3 separate regions of the Homo sapiens genome follow, and regions 1 and 2 are each linked to region 3. Evidence: promoter capture Hi-C in 16 types of primary human blood cells and fetal thymus (Javierre and others, 2016). All regions are on one chromosome and are shown on one strand. The core of a region is centred on a gene start or on the middle of the fragment in contact, and the rest is flanking DNA. Distances in the headings are between cores, read along the strand shown. Region 1 overlaps LOC105369309 (a long non-coding RNA gene). Region 2 overlaps LOC105369309 (a long non-coding RNA gene). Region 3 holds the start of APLNR (apelin receptor).

Region 1 (3,635 bases), core at 1,070-3,569, 130 kb after region 3:
TGTCCCAGGCAGAGAGAACAGCATATATGAAGGCTGGAAATGAGAAAGCAAGGCATGTTTGAGCAACTCAAAGGAATATCATGTCACTAGAAAAGGATGGGAAGTGAGGCTGGAGAGATGAAGAAGCATCAGATTATGAAGGGATTGGAAGCCAAGAAGTACTATGGTTGGTTTTAGTTTAGGACTTTATATTTTAAGACTTCAATATATAAACTTGGTTTGAGTTTACTTCTTCAGCTATTCAAGGAGAAGCAAGTGGAATGTGAACAGATCCAAAGCACCAACATGTGAGATGGAAAGCCTTTCCCTAAGAGTAAATAAGGAAACAAATAATTAATTTATTAATCATGGATCCCAGTTGAGTCTGGTGAGATGCAGAGCCACTTGACATTTAGGTGTTTGCATTAAGCAAAATATAGTTGACTCCTTTTTTTTTTTAACATTAATTTATTTTTTTTTGAAACAGAGTCCTGCTCTGTCACCCAGGCTGGAGTGTAGTGGCACAACCTTGGCTCACTGAACCTGTGCCTTACAGGTTCAAGCGATTCTCCTGCCTCAGCCTTCCAAGTAGCTGAGACTACAGGCATGCACCACCATGCCTGGCTGACTTTTGTATTTTTAATAGAGACAGGGTTTCACCATGTTGGCCAGGATGGTCTTGAACTCCTGACCTCAAGTGATCCACCCGTCTTGGCCTCCCAAAGTGCTGGGATTGCAGGCGTGAACCACAGAACCTGGCCACAAAATACAGTCGACTCTTGAACAATGTGAGGGTTAGGAATGCTGACCCCTGTTTAGGCAAAAATATGCTTATGAATTTAAACCCCTAAAAATGTAACTACTAATAGCCAACTGTTGACAGGAAGACTTACTGGTAACAAACAATTGATTAACACATATTTTGGATGTTATATGTATTATATACTGTATTCTTACAATAAAGTAAGCCAGAGAAAAGAAAATATTATTAGGAAAATCATAAGGCAGAGAAAATATATTTACTATTCATTGTGGAAGTGGATTATCATAGAGTTCTTCATCCTCATTGTCTTCATGTTGAGTAGGCTGAGGAGGAGGAAGAGAAAGGGTTGATCTTGCTGTTTCGGAGGAGGCAGAAGAGGTGGAGAAAGGGGAAGGGGAGGCAGGAGAGGCAGGCACATTAAGTATAAATTTTATTGGAAAAAGTCTGCTTACAAGTGGACTGGGGCAATTCAAACCTGTATTGTTCAAGGGTCAACTGTAATGCTTTATACCTTGCAAATAAAAAGCACAGCTAAATAATACCTATTATAAATTACATTTTAATAGAAAACCAAAACTGCCTGCATGAGGTCTTTTGGTCTAACGTAGCTTGACAACTGCACTATGTGTTGTCAATCAACTGAAGTGCTGAGATAGGACATCTGAAAAATTAATCAGTTTCCAAATGGGTTTCCCCCAAAATCCATTCTTAATAAACTTGTAGTGGTTACTGTAGAAAATGTTGCTTAGATGACATTTAAACATAAAGACAGTAACAGAAAGAAATGATCCCTCACGACTCTTTTAACTATAAAATTTGACCTTTTTAAGTTTCTGTAATTCTAGGTCAAAATAACACAAAAGTTATTTAAATAACACCAAATTTCAGTTGGCAGTTACAGGTAATTGAGTGAAAAAACTTGTAATCCAAATACATACTTCAGTTCTATTGCAGAACTATAGGGGTACAGAAACAGAACCAATCTTGCCCTGGTAATTGCTAGTGGGCATGGGGATAGGGACATCTCTCTGGCTGTTTTTGTGATTGAATGCACTCTCCTTTCTCAATTCTCCTTTTGGGTTGTTATCAGTGTAAAGAACATCGACTTCTCCCTCTGTCTATTTCTACAGGGAAATGAGCCTGCTCATTTCTTCCTCCATTAATGTCAGAGTCCTTGGCTCCACTCCAATCCCAGTGCTTGTTTTAAATTGGAGCAAAGTATGAGGCATGTCTTCCTACACAGTCTAAAAATTCCTGTTTAAAGGGATTATCTATATTCTGGAACATAAGCTTGCATAAAAGAGCAACTATCTCTATTTTTCTGACTATTTCCCTTCATCTGGGATCTGGGTCATCCGGATTAATTATAAATTGTCAAGAGGCACAGGTTGAGCTTGGTTGGAATAATTGTCCACATGATGTTACTGAAGAGACTTCAGGAAAACACTCTGCTCCAATATCACACTCAACGACTTTCTCTGAGGTTAGGTATGTCTCCAATGGTTTTTTTTCAGATGAGTAGTATATATTAGAATCAAATGAATGTATTCATCAAGCATTTATTGCCCATCCACTATGTTTTATGTAATATGATAAATGTAAGGAATGAATAATAACTATGGCAATAATTACTACTTATTGAGCATTTACTAAGGGATAGGTACTCTGCTAGGTGCTGTAGAGGCAGTATTTCATTTAATTCTTTCAAACTCCTTGAGAGGTAAGTATTATTGCCTTTATTCTGTAAAAGAAAATACTGAGTTTTAGCAAGGTTAGTTAGCTTGCCCAAAGTCAAGATCACCCAACTAGAGTGTTTCAGAGGTGGATTTGAACCCAGTTGGCTTACATCAAAGCCAAAGCTTTCAGCCAACATACTATCCTTGAGGAGACTATAGACTGATGTGAGAGGAAGGCAGGCAAACTAGCAATTATGTTGAGCAGGGCTTTAAAAAAACCCAGTGGGAAGTCAATAGAAGGGGACAAGAAAACTCCAGATTGAGGAAGTCCAGATGTGCAAAGAGTGAGAACATGGTGTGCACAAGAGAAGGTGGAAACTCTGTGTGGCTGGAGAAGGGAAGGTGGGAGAAGGTTGGAATGGAGATTGGAAAAATGCTCTAGAACAAAATTGTAAAAGATTTCAAATGCCATGTCAGGGAATCTGGATTTTATTTTATGGAATGATAGTGACAGCTTTGTATACCGACTCCCTCCATAACAATTTATAATTAACTACTGTCTTGAAATAAAATTTACAGATAGCATAACATACCTGCAAATGTACTTTTAAGAGATAATATATCATTCTAACTCTAAAGAAAAGTAAAAGTAAAAGGAAAATAACTTAAAAAATAAGTAACATTTAAATGCTAAGTGCAGCTGCTGTTGTAGTTAGATGTTTGCATCTGCATGTTATCACGAATGTATCAGCTACAAATGCAGATTGACATGATGATTTCCATGTGTTAAAGACTCAACTACAATGAGAGTGTTGCTTTTGGTTATGTGATTTCTCCAAATGGTAAAAGTTTCTGGTTAAATTTCCCAGCAAAACAAAGTCTGACCTTTCCTCCATTTATGTGGTAGTTGCAATTCAGGTAACCCATTGTATGTTCAAATTGTGCAAAAATACTTTGTTTTTTTGTAACACAGAGTTAGGTTCTATGTTCAGTTAATCATAAACAAGGTTTCCACTTACATGATATCCGATGGGATATTTGAAAATCATGGTTGATGTTGACTATTCTTGCCTGTGAGATACCATGCTGTGGCTTTAGTAATCTCTGCTCCCTAAATACTAGTAGTCTCCCACCAACTATTGGGACAACTAACAGTGTTCCTGCAAGTAAAAAAAAAGTCTCTAGAGATCTTTACCATTCAGTTAGGAGCAAAGTAA
Region 2 (3,711 bases), core at 382-2,881, 100 kb after region 3:
ATATTGTGTTTTCATTACAAATAGAAGGATTGTGGTAACCCTGCATCAAGCGAGTCTATTGGTGGCATTTTCTCAACAGCATGTGTTTACTGTGTGTCTCTGTCAAATTTTGGTAATTCAATATTTCAAACTTTTTCGTTATTGTTTATCTGTTACGGTGATCTGTGATCAGTGATCATTGATGTTATTACTGTAATTGTTTTGGAGCACCACAAACCATGCCCGTATACAACACTAATCCATACAAGTCGTGAGTGTTTTGATTACACCACTGACTGGCCATTCAACATCTCTCTTCCTCTCCTTGGACCTCCCTAGTCCCTGAGACACAACAAAGTTGAAATGAGGCCAATTAGTAACCCTGCAAGGGCCTCTAAGTGTTCAAGTGAAAGGAAGAGTTGTACGTCTCTTACTCTATATCAAAGGTAGAAATGATTAAGCTTAGTGAGCAAGGCTCACTAATGTCTTTCATGAATGTCCAAAGCTTTCACTAATGTCAAAAGCTGAGATATGCTGAAAGCTAGGCCTGTCATACCAAACAGTTGGCCAAGTTGTGAATGCAAAAAAAAAAAAAAAAAAAAAGTCCTTGAAGGAAGTTAAAAGTGCTATTCCAGTGACCACACGAATCATAAGGAAGCAAAACAGCCTTATTACTGATGTGGAGGAAGTTTTTGTGGTCTGGATAGAAGATCAAACTAGCCACACAATACTACCTCAAGCCAAAGCCTAATCCAGAGCAAGTCTCTTCCATTCTGTGAAAGCTGAGAGAGGTGAGGAAACTGCAGAAGAAAAGTTTGAAGTTAGCAGAGATTTGTTCATAGGTTTAAGGAAAGAAGTTATCTCCGTAACATAAAAATACACTGTGAAGTAGCAAATGCTGATACAGAAGCTACAGCAAATTATTAAAAAATCTAGATAAGATAATTGATGAAGGTGGCTACACTAAATTTACAAATTTTCCATGTAGATCAAACAGCCTTTTAATGGAAGAGATGCTATTTAGGACTTTTATAGTTATAGAGGAGAAGTCAACGGCTGGCTACAAAGCTTCAAAGAACAGGTGGACTCTGCTGTTAGTGGCTACTGCAGCTGGTGATTTTAAGTTGAAGCCAGTGCTCATTTACTATTCTAAAAATCCTAAGGCCCTTAAGAAATATGCTAAACCAACTCTGCTTGTGCTGTACATAAATGAAACTGCAAAGCCTAGATGACAGCACATCTGTCTATAGCATGGTTTATTAGATATCTTAGTCATACTGTTGAGACCTATTGCTCAGAATAAAGACTCCTTTCAAAATATTACTGCTCACTGACAATACACCTAGACACTCAAGAGCTCTAATGGAAATGTACAGGGCAATTAATCTTGTTTTCAAGCCCAGTAACACAATGTTCACTGTGCAGTGCATGAATCCAGGGGTAATTTTGACTCTCAAGGCTTATTATTTAAGACATATATTATGTATGGCTATAGCAGCCATTCATAGTGATTCCCCTGGCGGGTCTGGGCAAAGTAAATTGAAAACCTTCTAAAAAGATTCATCCTTCCAGATGGCATTAAAAATATTCATATTCATGAGAGGAGATCAAAATATCAACATTAGCCGTAATTTGGAAGAAGCTGATTCCAACTGTCATAGTTTCCTTCGAGGGGTTCAAGATGTTAGTGGAGGAAACAACTGCAGATTTGGTGGAAATAGTAAGAGAACTAGAAGTGAAAGTGGAGCCTGAAGATGTGACTGAATTGCTGCAATCTTATGATAATATTTGAATGGATGAAGAGTTGCTTCTTTCAGAAGAATAAAAAAGTGAGTTTTTTTTTTTTTTTTTCTTTGAGACAGTGTCATGCTCTGTCATCCAGGCTGGAGTGCAGTGGTGTGATCTCAGCTCACTGCAACCTCTGCTTCCTGGGTTCAAGCAATTCTCCTGCCTCAGCCTCCTGAGTAGCTGGGACTACAGGCATGCACCACCACCAAGCCCGGCTAATTTTTGTATTTTCAGTAGAGATGGGGTTTCACATGTTGGCCAGGCTGGTCTCAAACTCCTGACCTCAGGTGATCTGCCCATCTTGGCCTCCCAGAGTATTAGGATTACAGGCACGAGCCATCTCGCCTGGCCAAAAAAGTGAGTTTTTGAGTTGGAATATACTCTTGGTGAAGATGCTGTGAACATTGTTGAAATGATCACAAAGGATTGAAATATTACATAAGCTTAGTTATTAAAGCAGTGGCAGATTTTTAGAGGATTGACTCCAATTTTGAAAGAAGTTTGACTGCGGGTAAAATGCTATCAAACAGCATCCCATACTACAGAGAAATCTTTGTGAAAACGAAAGTCAATTGATATAATTGATATGGGAAACTCCATTGTTGTCTTTTTTTTTTTGAGATGGAGTATTGCTCTGTCACCCAGGCTGGAGTACAGTGGTGTAATCTCGGCTCACTGCAACCTCCGCCTCCTGGGTTCAAGTGATTATCCTGTCTCAGCCTCCTGAGTAGCTGGGATTACAGGTGCGTGCCACCATGCCCAGCTAATTTTTGTATTTTTAGTAGACAGAGCGTTTCACTATGTTGGTCAGGCTGGTCTCGAGCTCCTGACCTCGTGATCCACCCACCTCAGCCTCCCAAAGTGCTGGGATTACAGGCCTGAGGCACTGTGCCCAGTCATTGTTGTCTTATTTTAAGAAATTGCCACAGCCACCCCAACCTTTAGCAACCACTATCCTGATCAGGAAGCAACTTTTAATTTCTTCTGAGAACTTTTTTTTTTCCTTTTCTTTTTTAGACATGGGGTCTCATTCTGTTGCCCAGGCTGGAGTGCAGTGGTGTGATTATAACTCATGGCAGCCTCAAACTCCTGGGCTCAAGAGATCCTCTTGCTTCAGCCTCCCAAGTTGCTAGGACTACAGGCATGGACCACCATGTCTGGCTAAGAACTTTTCTTTTGCATTCACAACTTGACTAACTGTCACAAATCTTTAATTCTTAAAAATGTGATATCTATGAGGTACAATAAAGCAAAGTGAAATAAAATGAGGTATGCCTGTATACTATGATTTAGTTAACCAGTTCCCAGTTGATCTATCCCTTTTTCTTAAAGTTCTCTAGATTGGAAAACTGAAGCTCCCTCGAGAATCAGGGACATCTCTGGCCATTCCTCAGACAGAATTTAACCTCTTATTTTGTACATGCATTGAGTAGTTATTGTGAACAGGGCTCACATCCTGAATACTCTATGGCAACACTGAGGTAGAGTTTCTGCCCATGTATACAAATCACTGACACATAAGGTAGATGGTAGCAAGTGGCCGAGAAAGACAGAGAGCGAGTGAGCTTAGTTCTGTCTTCGTGGAAAGTAGGTCAGGAACGGCTTCATGGTGTTGGCGACATTTGAGTTAGATCAGAAATAGGGGAGAGGTCTTTTGAAAGAGGCTGTTCCAGGTGGAGGGAACAGTGTGGACAGAGGCACAGACGAGAGCCTGGATGGGGAAGAGAGACTGGCGTGAGTACCAGCATGTGGAGGAAAGCAGGCTGGGGCTAGGCCACAGTGGATATTAAGCACTAGTCCAAGGAAATGATCAAGGACTGAGAACTTTCATGGAGTTTTGCTTGTCAAGGGCCTGTTATAAGATTGAAAGGACTGGATTCATGGATTAAAGGTATGTCCTAGAGGGAGACCTCTTATATTAAAGCACGTTTTGATAAATTGGTT
Region 3 (3,589 bases), core at 1,090-3,589:
ATTGCATTTAGGTGAAGGTCACAGGATCTTTCTAATCTCTCTCTGCAGCCTTCTCTCCTGTATCTCCCCACTGCACTCTAAGGCTTTTTCTATCTTTGCATTTTTTGTTTCCTCCTCCTGCCCCATCCTCTTGGTTCTTCTCCTGCCTTCTATTCTTGGCAAGCTCCTGTTTAAAGAACACAAACTCGGGGGCCAAAGACATGTTTTACTTATCATGGTCTGTGCTTTTTTTTGAAATGAAAATTGATTTCCAAAATTTACAAATATGAAAATTTCTTACAAAAATCCATAATTTGAAATTATCTTGGAAAAATCCTAAGACACAGTCATGCTGGGGTCCAGCTTTCTGCGTGGCAACCAGAGACTAGAGCTGAAGAGGCCTCCCTATGATGGAATGGGCACCCTCCAGTTTGCCACAGTCTTTACCATTCTCTGTTGTCTCAAACTACACTCTTGGCCTGTTTTTTTTTTTTTTTTTTGCAGGTATTTGAGTTTGAGTTCCTTGATCTCTGCATATGATTTTCTGATCCACTCTCCCTCCAGAAAATGGATTCCAGCTTTTGTAGTAACTTAAGACAAATATATATCGTGAGACAGGGTCTTGGCTGTGTTATTCAGGCTAGTCTTGAACTCCTGGGCTCAAGCAGTCTTCCTGCCTTGGCCTCCCAAAGTGCTGGGATTATAGGCATGAGCCACCTTGCCTGGCCAATTCCAGCTTTTGTAAGTCTTTTGCCTTGGAAGTGGCTAAGGCTCAGCTCCTGCTTTTGTTCCATCTCACTATTACCCAACGTCAGGTGGCTTCCCCAACTCTTCAAGGTTGTGGAAAGGGTGCGTATTTTTTAAAAAAAATCTTACGTCGTGCATCTTCCTTCCTTCCTAGAGGTCCTGGAGAGGTGATGAGCTGGGGCAAAGTGAGCGTCTACGGAACTTTCCCCACAGTATCCTCCAGTGACTGAGTCTTTCTCTAGAGACCCCCCTCCTCTAGCTCAACTTCCTGACCCCCTGTGGTCTTACAGAAACCTCTTGGTCCATGGAGGATAGTAAAAACCTGAGAACTGAAATGTATCCATGTTCTCACCACGTAGTAATTCTTACACTTGTTCTTCCATCTATGGATTCCCCTTTTCACTCACCTCCTACATCATCCATCCACTTACTCACTCAACAGCCATTCACCTGGCTGGGCGTGGTGGCTCATGCCTGTAATTTCAGCACTTTGGGAGGCCGAGGTGGGTGGATCATCTGAGGTCAGGAGTTTGAGACTAGCCTGGTCAATCCCCATCTCTACTAAAAATACAAAAAAATTAGCCTGCAATCCCAGCTACTAGGGAGGCTGAGGCGGGAGAATCGCTTGAACCCAGGAGGCAGAAGTTGCAGTGAGCCTAGACCAGCCTGGGCAACAAGAGTGAAACTCTGTCTCAACAAACAAACAAACAAACAAAACAGCCATTCACCTACGACATGCCAGGTACTGTATTATGTTCGTGTTTGGAGAAGAAGAAAAGCAAACAATCAACTGTAGCATAATTCACTTTATTACCTTGGGCAAAACATTGACCTTGTTGGGCCTTTGTTTCCTACAGATTTAATGACTTGTTTAGAGATAATTTTGTCCTGGGTTTCTTCCATCCTGTGACTGCCCTCAACCTTCTAAAGCATCCTGTGCCTTCCGCAAACTGCAAACTGCAGTCTACACTAGTGTAGGGGTATTTCTCTAGAAACCACAAAAGTTCTCAGAGGGAGGGTCAAAGCCAAGGGGTAGAGAAAGATGAAGCGAGAGGCAAAGTGGGAGAAGACCCTCCTGTGACACCTGGTCTGGGTGGGGGCTGGGGGTGCAGGAAGGGAGCCGAGGGGGCCAGACCTGCCTGCCAGGAGGACCTGCCAGATGCCCTGCCCATCCTGCGAAATCTTACACCCTCCTTGCTCCCTACCAGCCCTGGCTCCAGCTCAAGCTGGATTGCAATCTGCATAATGTGTCCCATTTAGATTGGATGGAAGGGGGTGAGAACAGGAGGGCGGAGAGCACTGAGGAGGGAGTGCCCTAAAGGGCAGGCAGGAAGTGGTGGCCAGAGGAAAGTGGAGGGATAGGGGCTGGGGTGAAGGTGGGTGGCAGCCAGAAAGGAGAGGCGGGGCCAGGAAAGCCGACTTGCAAAACCACAGATAATGTTCAGCCCAGCACAGTAGGGGTCAATTTGGTCCACTTGCTCAGTGACAAAAAGAAAAAAAAAGTGGGCTGTCACTAAAGATTTTGACTCACAAGAGAGGGGCTGGTCTGGAGGTGGGAGGAGGGAGTGACGAGTCAAGGAGGAGACAGGGACGCAGGAGGGTGCAAGGAAGTGTCTTAACTGAGACGGGGGTAAGGCAAGAGAGGGTGGAGGAAATTCTGCAGGAGACAGGCTTCCTCCAGGGTCTGGAGAACCCAGAGGCAGCTCCTCCTGAGTGCTGGGAAGGACTCTGGGCATCTTCAGCCCTTCTTACTCTCTGAGGCTCAAGCCAGAAATTCAGGCTGCTTGCAGAGTGGGTGACAGAGCCACGGAGCTGGTGTCCCTGGGACCCTCTGCCCGTCTTCTCTCCACTCCCCAGCATGGAGGAAGGTGGTGATTTTGACAACTACTATGGGGCAGACAACCAGTCTGAGTGTGAGTACACAGACTGGAAATCCTCGGGGGCCCTCATCCCTGCCATCTACATGTTGGTCTTCCTCCTGGGCACCACGGGCAACGGTCTGGTGCTCTGGACCGTGTTTCGGAGCAGCCGGGAGAAGAGGCGCTCAGCTGATATCTTCATTGCTAGCCTGGCGGTGGCTGACCTGACCTTCGTGGTGACGCTGCCCCTGTGGGCTACCTACACGTACCGGGACTATGACTGGCCCTTTGGGACCTTCTTCTGCAAGCTCAGCAGCTACCTCATCTTCGTCAACATGTACGCCAGCGTCTTCTGCCTCACCGGCCTCAGCTTCGACCGCTACCTGGCCATCGTGAGGCCAGTGGCCAATGCTCGGCTGAGGCTGCGGGTCAGCGGGGCCGTGGCCACGGCAGTTCTTTGGGTGCTGGCCGCCCTCCTGGCCATGCCTGTCATGGTGTTACGCACCACCGGGGACTTGGAGAACACCACTAAGGTGCAGTGCTACATGGACTACTCCATGGTGGCCACTGTGAGCTCAGAGTGGGCCTGGGAGGTGGGCCTTGGGGTCTCGTCCACCACCGTGGGCTTTGTGGTGCCCTTCACCATCATGCTGACCTGTTACTTCTTCATCGCCCAAACCATCGCTGGCCACTTCCGCAAGGAACGCATCGAGGGCCTGCGGAAGCGGCGCCGGCTGCTCAGCATCATCGTGGTGCTGGTGGTGACCTTTGCCCTGTGCTGGATGCCCTACCACCTGGTGAAGACGCTGTACATGCTGGGCAGCCTGCTGCACTGGCCCTGTGACTTTGACCTCTTCCTCATGAACATCTTCCCCTACTGCACCTGCATCAGCTACGTCAACAGCTGCCTCAACCCCTTCCTCTATGCCTTTTTCGACCCCCGCTTCCGCCAGGCCTGCACCTCCATGCTCTGCTGTGGCCAGAGCAGGTGCGCAGGCACCTCC

The links. Contacts are between HindIII fragments. The CHiCAGO score rates a contact against its expected background, and 5 or more counts as called.
Region 1: a contact is called between a fragment that was not itself captured here and the fragment with the promoter of APLNR in region 3, in 4 of 17 cell types (M0 macrophages, M2 macrophages, M1 macrophages and 1 more). The highest score is 8.6, in M0 macrophages.
Region 2: a fragment that was not itself captured here is called in contact with the fragment with the promoter of APLNR in region 3 in 3 of 17 cell types (endothelial precursors, M0 macrophages and M2 macrophages); the score reaches 7.4 in endothelial precursors.

Annotation. Positions count from the first base shown.
Region 1 is chr11:57,110,129-57,113,763 of GRCh38, reverse strand. The region is part of intron 6 of LOC105369309 (a long non-coding RNA gene); the gene reads left to right. Among named protein-coding and RNA genes, the nearest start is that of LRRC55, 70 kb to the left of the region's middle. The HindIII fragment of the contact is 569 bases long and covers 2,035-2,603 here.
Region 2 is chr11:57,131,393-57,135,103 of GRCh38, reverse strand. The region is part of intron 6 of LOC105369309 (a long non-coding RNA gene); the gene reads left to right. Among named protein-coding and RNA genes, the nearest start is that of LRRC55, 49 kb to the left of the region's middle. The HindIII fragment of the contact is 1,163 bases long and covers 1,050-2,212 here.
Region 3 is chr11:57,236,000-57,239,588 of GRCh38, reverse strand. It overlaps APLNR (apelin receptor), which reads left to right and starts at 2,339. Exons shown (of 1, transcript NM_005161.6): 1 at 2,339-3,589. The coding sequence starts at 2,585. RefSeq lists an enhancer at 2,065-2,697. The HindIII fragment of the contact is 5,179 bases long and covers 1-3,589 here.